Linked DNA regions of Homo sapiens: region 1 is linked to region 2. The links are contacts of gene promoters, found by promoter capture Hi-C in blood cells and fetal thymus (Javierre and others, 2016). All regions are on one chromosome and are shown on one strand. Each heading gives the region's core, a stretch centred on a gene start or on the middle of the fragment in contact. The rest is flanking DNA. Distances are from core to core; before and after follow the strand shown.

The links. The method cuts DNA at HindIII sites, captures the fragments that hold promoters and counts their contacts. A CHiCAGO score of 5 or more calls a contact.
Region 1: the fragment with the promoter of MRPS18A here is called in contact with the fragment with the promoter of DRC5 in region 2 in 4 of 17 cell types (megakaryocytes, activated CD4 T cells, M2 macrophages and 1 more); the score reaches 6.2 in megakaryocytes.

What each region holds. Positions count from the first base shown.
Region 1 is chr6:43,686,512-43,689,211 of GRCh38, forward strand. MRPS18A (mitochondrial ribosomal protein S18A) reads right to left here and starts at 1,280. Exons shown (of 6, transcript NM_018135.4): 1 at 1,157-1,280. The coding sequence starts at 1,268. LOC124901320 (a long non-coding RNA gene) reads left to right here and starts at 2,451. Exons shown (of 2, transcript XR_007059586.1): 1 at 2,451-2,700. RefSeq lists enhancers at 1,034-1,093, 1,039-1,650. The HindIII fragment of the contact is 1,093 bases long and covers 483-1,575 here.
Region 2 is chr6:44,296,358-44,299,057 of GRCh38, forward strand. It overlaps DRC5 (dynein regulatory complex subunit 5), which reads right to left and starts at 1,341. Exons shown (of 5, transcript NM_182539.4): 1 at 1,302-1,341. AARS2 (alanyl-tRNA synthetase 2, mitochondrial) reads right to left here. Exons shown (of 22, transcript NM_020745.4): 22 at 2,374-2,700. RefSeq lists a silencer at 1,255-1,334. The HindIII fragment of the contact is 7,791 bases long and covers 871-2,700 here.

The DNA.
Region 1 (2,700 bases), core at 30-2,529, 610 kb before region 2:
CTCTTTCATTTCTCCAAACTGGATTCCTTGTTTGCCACTCTATTGAAATTGCTGTTTGAAAGCTACAAAGAGACCTCTTCTGAGACAAATCCAATGGCCCCTTCATTAGGCCCTTTTTAGACTTTTCTGCTCCCTCTGACAACAATGATCACTCTTTTCCACTGGATACTTCTCAGCTTTCGTTAAAGGATATGCTGCCCAATACTATGCCAGATCCTCAAAAAACCCCACATCTCTTCTTTTGCACATCACTCATCCTTTCCTGCTTCCAGGAGTACACAAAGGAAGGCTATGTCCTAAAAGACCGTTTCACTCTCCGCCAGATTCCATCCTTTTGTGAGCCTGCTCAAGACACATCCTCTTTATGAAAACTTCCAACTGGGTTTGCCGTTTCCAGTAACTGAGTCTCCCTGTACTTCGTCACGTAAAAGGCTAACTTGCATTTATTGGAGTGTGTATATACATAATCTCATTAGAACCTAAGCTTTTCAGAAAAAGGGCTGTATTTTCTGTCTCCAGAATTCCTTCACAGCTTGAAGCATAGCACTTGGCATTCAGTAAACTCTCAGTTGATGCTCGAATCAGGCCGCTTTCCCAGATTAAGATTAATGAAAAGCTGAACTACCATCCTGCATTTGCCTATGTCTCAGCTATTCAATGGCCTTTCCACTTTGGCCTCCCCCTCACAGGGAGACTAGCGGCCCGGGGCAGAGAACGCCGCCATCAGATCACAGCATTTTGAGAAGGGAAAGTGGAAAGGGAGGCTCTGGGAGGGTACCCAGATGGCCTTCCTTCGTGATCCAGAGACTCTTTAATAAAAGAGACTGCGATTCGGAGAACATGGAAGGAAGAATTAACATGCAAACCCTTTCCGAAAACTTTTCTGAGCCCTAGGACAGGTTTAGTGTCTGCTCCTGCTAAGTAAGCAGGCTTTTCTCTCCGTCCTCCTCCGCCTTGTGAAGATACTCACAAGGGGCAGGAGATCAAGATAAGGCACCAGGGTGTGGAAGGGGCTTTTAAGCACGCCTGGGGAGCCGGTACCTCCAAAGTTTCAGAATCGGACGAAGGAAAGGTAGGAAGGAGCGCACCGGGGCTGGCGGAAGCAGTCTCTGCCGCTCTTCTTAATTTCAGGAGGTTGCTGGGACGCATGACTCACCTTCCCTGAACCCGCGAGCTGGAAGCCGAGACCAGCTGGTCGCTGCCGGGCCCGCTAGTAGCCCACGGAGAAGCCGCCCACAGCCGGACACCAGAGCCTTGAGGGCCGCCATCTTCAAAAACCTACCCTGACCTCTCGTCCATTTCCGCTTCCGGAACGTAGCGCCCGCCGCCGCAGTGGTGGGGCAGGAACGGCGGGGCGGGGTTGTAGTTCGCTTGCTCCTGTCACATCATTTCTCTCACCTGTCCGCTTTGGGATACGAAGAGAGGCTTCTGCGTCAAGCCTATATTTCGTGTTAAGGATCTAGGGGAGGTCTTCTAGCTCCTGTCTGCCAATGCCTACAAGTCTTCAAGGTTGCATTCGTTTCCTGGAAGGCTTCCTTAGGAAAATCGCACGCAACACCCCACCTATGTCTTTAAAGCTTTCTCTTCACTGCACGTGAGCTGTGGACTTTTAGCTTCTGTGACTGGGGCTAGACCTCTACGGGAGAGGCTGAAATGGTTAGGAACTCTGGCTCTGGAGTATCGGATATCAGGCAGACCTGGGATAGAATTGATACCCCCTTCTTCCCTGACCACTGCCACACTGATCTTTGATTTGCATATACTTAGACCTCTCTCTAGCCCCAGGGCCTTGATACAAGCTATTTCCTTTGTCTGCTCTTTAGCTGTCTAGTTAGCTTCTGCTTATTTCTTAGAGCTCACCTCAAACCTTATTTCCACAGTTTTGCTTGACTGCCCATTCTCAGCACCAGATGCCTCTCCATCTTAGTGCTTGGGACAATTTCAGTTTTATGTTTGTTTTGTATGTGTCTTCTCACCAGACTGTAAGCTCCATGAAGTCAGGAACATTGTTTTCTGTTGACTCGCACATCTCCAGCACTTAGAATAGTTCCTGACACATAATAAGAGTACAATATATACTTGTTGAATGAATGAGTAGAATCTATTTTATAGGGCCTAGGGGAGGACTAGACCCTGAAGATTAGATGTGATAAAACATAAGTGATCGGCCGGGTGTGGTGGCTCATGCCTGTAATCCCAGCACTTTGGGAGGCTGAGGCGGGTGGATTACCTGAGGTCAGGAGTTCAAGACCAGCCTGACCAACATGGTGAAACCCTATCTACTAAAAATACAAAAATTAGGTGGGTGTGGTGGCGGGCACCTGTAATCCCAGACACTTGGGAGGCTGAGGCAGGAGAATCGCTTGAACCCAGGAGGCGGAGGTTGCAGTGAGCCAAGATCACACCATTGCACTCCAGCCTGGGCGACAAGAGTGAAACTCCGTCTCAAAAACAAAACAAAACAAAACAAAACAAAACAAAAGGGCTCAATAAACATAAGCTAGTTAATAGAGCAGTTATGGAGATGACTCTTTTCACAAGTTGGACTCACTTGTGTTGTAAGGAAGCTTATGGTACCAAAGAGAAAATACAACTGCCAGTTTTTCCTCTTTCAGATTTGTGAGACGTATAGGATGTTCCTCTGGAGCTCCACAGGAAAGGAAAATCATTCACAACTCAGTTCTTCCTATCCTTCTCTGA
Region 2 (2,700 bases), core at 91-2,590:
GAGACTTCCGCAAGGCTGGACCACTGCCTGCATCCTTTGGAGGGTGCAAGGAGCCCAACAGAGTGCTGCAGAGTGGTGCTCTCCTGCCCCTGGCATATTCCCTCCACAGGAAGTCTCAGGTCTTCTCCATCCTTCCTCAGGTCCCCAGCTAAATCTAACCATTCTGGGTAGGAGCTCCTTCCACCTGCCCTAATGGGAACACGAGGAAGATGCTGTAGGTTTGCATTCTCACCTTCTTGTGCATCACAGTTCTGGTCCTCAACTGTCCCCTCCTCCCTTCCTCTTAGTGGAGAAGTGGAGACACCCGGCCCTCTTTGGGCAGACAGCGCCTCTGTGCCCGGGACACTTCCCCAGGAGCTGGCTTTGCACCCACTGCTCTGACTGCCTTCTCTGCCTTCTCAGCCGCTCCCACCCCAGATCCCCTCAGGAGAGCCCTCCTCTGTTCTCAGGGCTCTGGGCTTTTGTCTACAGCCACCTCCATATCCTTCATGCCCACCATGTCTTACTTTGGGGTAAGTCACTCCCAAGTTGGGAATTCCACTTGTGGAAGGGCAAAAAACTTTCTCCAACTGAGCCTCGGCCCGTGTGCTTGGACTTGGGCTGGGTGAAACCGCCAGTTCACTTACCACAGCCCCTGGGCTGGCCTCCTCCCAACTCCTGACCACTCAGGTCTGTTGTCTCAAAAGTGACTCCAGCGGCTCTGGAGTCTCCCACCCCTCCTCCCTACCTTCAGCTCAGACACCCCAGCAGAGAAGCTCAGCTCCAAAGGCCAGGAGTCCCTCCCCCATCCTACCTGGGGTGTAGAGGCGCTGGCTTCTCCTTGGTAACCCAGGGAAACCGGCAGTGCAGTGGGAGGTAGGGAGATGAGGAAGCTTCCGCACCCGCGGGAGGGATTACAGCCCTCGGGTGATGGGAACGGACGGCCTTTCGGAGAAGCCTAGGGCCCCAGGGCTTGGGACCGCTCTCCTCCACGCCCTACGGATGCCCCACTTTCCCCCTCTTCTTCCCAGTCCCTCCCCTCGCCTCACTCGGATCCCCAGCCCCGGGCCAGACGGTTTGCAGACAGTGACTGTGGTGGGGAGGAGGCGCGGGGCGTCCTCGCGTGGAGGGCGTGGGGTCTCCCGTGGGTACGGACCGGCGCTTCCCCGCCACGGAAAACGCAACCCAGGCAATGGCCGCCCGTGGGCTTCGGGCCGGTGTGGGCAGAGGACGCTAGAGGGGCTCCCGGGCCCAGCCGGCCAGAGGGGGCCCCGATAAGGGAGACCGGGGCTGGGTGTCCCCACTCCCGGAGGTCGCCTCACCCGCTCCGGGAGCCCCGGCGCTCGCCTCACGCAGAGTCCCGCGCGCCGGCGCAGGTCTTTGTCGTTGGGGACGCCCCGCGTTGCTAGGAGCGGGCCGGGCCGGGAGGACGAGCGCGCCGCTGCTTCCTCCGCTGCCGCTGCCGCTGCGCGCCAGGCACGCGGCTTACTCGCGCGCAGGGTGGCCAGGCCCGGCCTCGGGACGGTTCCGTGGAAGCGGCCGCTTTGCGGGTAGTGGGACTGTGGCCTTGCGCTATGCCCTGTGCTTCCGTGGGACGTGTCTAGGAACGGGTGGGCTTTCTGCGGGAGGCGGGGGTCGGGCAGGGCTGCTGGTCTGGAGTGCTTGTGCTCTCTTGGTAGCTTTTGTGTGGCAATGGATAGGGAGCTGGTCCAGGAAAAGCGTCTGTGGAAGAAGAGGAGGGTGGACGCACCTTCTCCAAGGCACCTGTAGAAGTCACTGGAACTCCCGTGAGGCCTCCTGTTGACCTTAGGCCCTGCGGGAGGGAGGGCACCTTCCACCTTTCCCCCAGCTGAAGGTCTGGTACCAGACGCAGGAAGGTTCCAGGCCAACACAGCGCTCCTTCACACAGTCCATGCCCTGTGCCAAACTCTCTTCCAGCCCTGGCGCGACAAGATGTGGTTGGGGCCCCAGATCTCCTGGAGGGCGAGAGGGACAGACCAGAGGGACGGCTAGTAAAAAAAAAGAAATTGGCCTTCAGGAAGGGAGAGGCAGCCAGGGTGGCGGGGCTTTCAAAGGGTAGCTTTGACTTCAGCTCTGCCGAGGACTACTAGTTGGTTACCCTGGATGAACATCTCGAAGCTCTGTTAACTCATCAATAAATCAGGGGTGCCAAAACTCATCTTGGCGCTCGCGGAGGAGCTTGAACCTGGGCCTGTGGTGAGCACTGCTAAACAGGCTACTGCCCCAGTGGCCAGGATGCTGCTTTGCAAGCAGTGAGGGGCCAGGCACCCGGGATTGGGTCCCTTCAAGCCCTCAGCAGTGCCTTACCAGCAAATCATCAGTGCCTTAATTAGAATGAGAAACTGCAGAAAATGATGCCAGGCGGGCCCACGCTGCTCGAATAATTTTTACTAGACAGAATTTGGTAGCCAGGGAGCCCTTGATTTGAAGATGGATCCCCTGAGGCCCTTTCCTTCATCTAGCAACAGAGATCTAGGAACAAAGGCAGAGGTCCAAAGTCTGGCTGTCTGAGGTGGACTCATTCTGGTAGGGAAGGAGGGCTTTCCTCCATCTCTGCTTCCTCCTGCTTTGAAGTGCCAATTTTCAGCTTCAGCTCAGGCTTGAGGCAGGTGCTGTACAACTTGTTTTAATAAGCATATTGTTTGTCTGACCCCGCTCTCCAGCCTCCTCACCTGCCCCTATCCCAGCTCACTGCTCAGT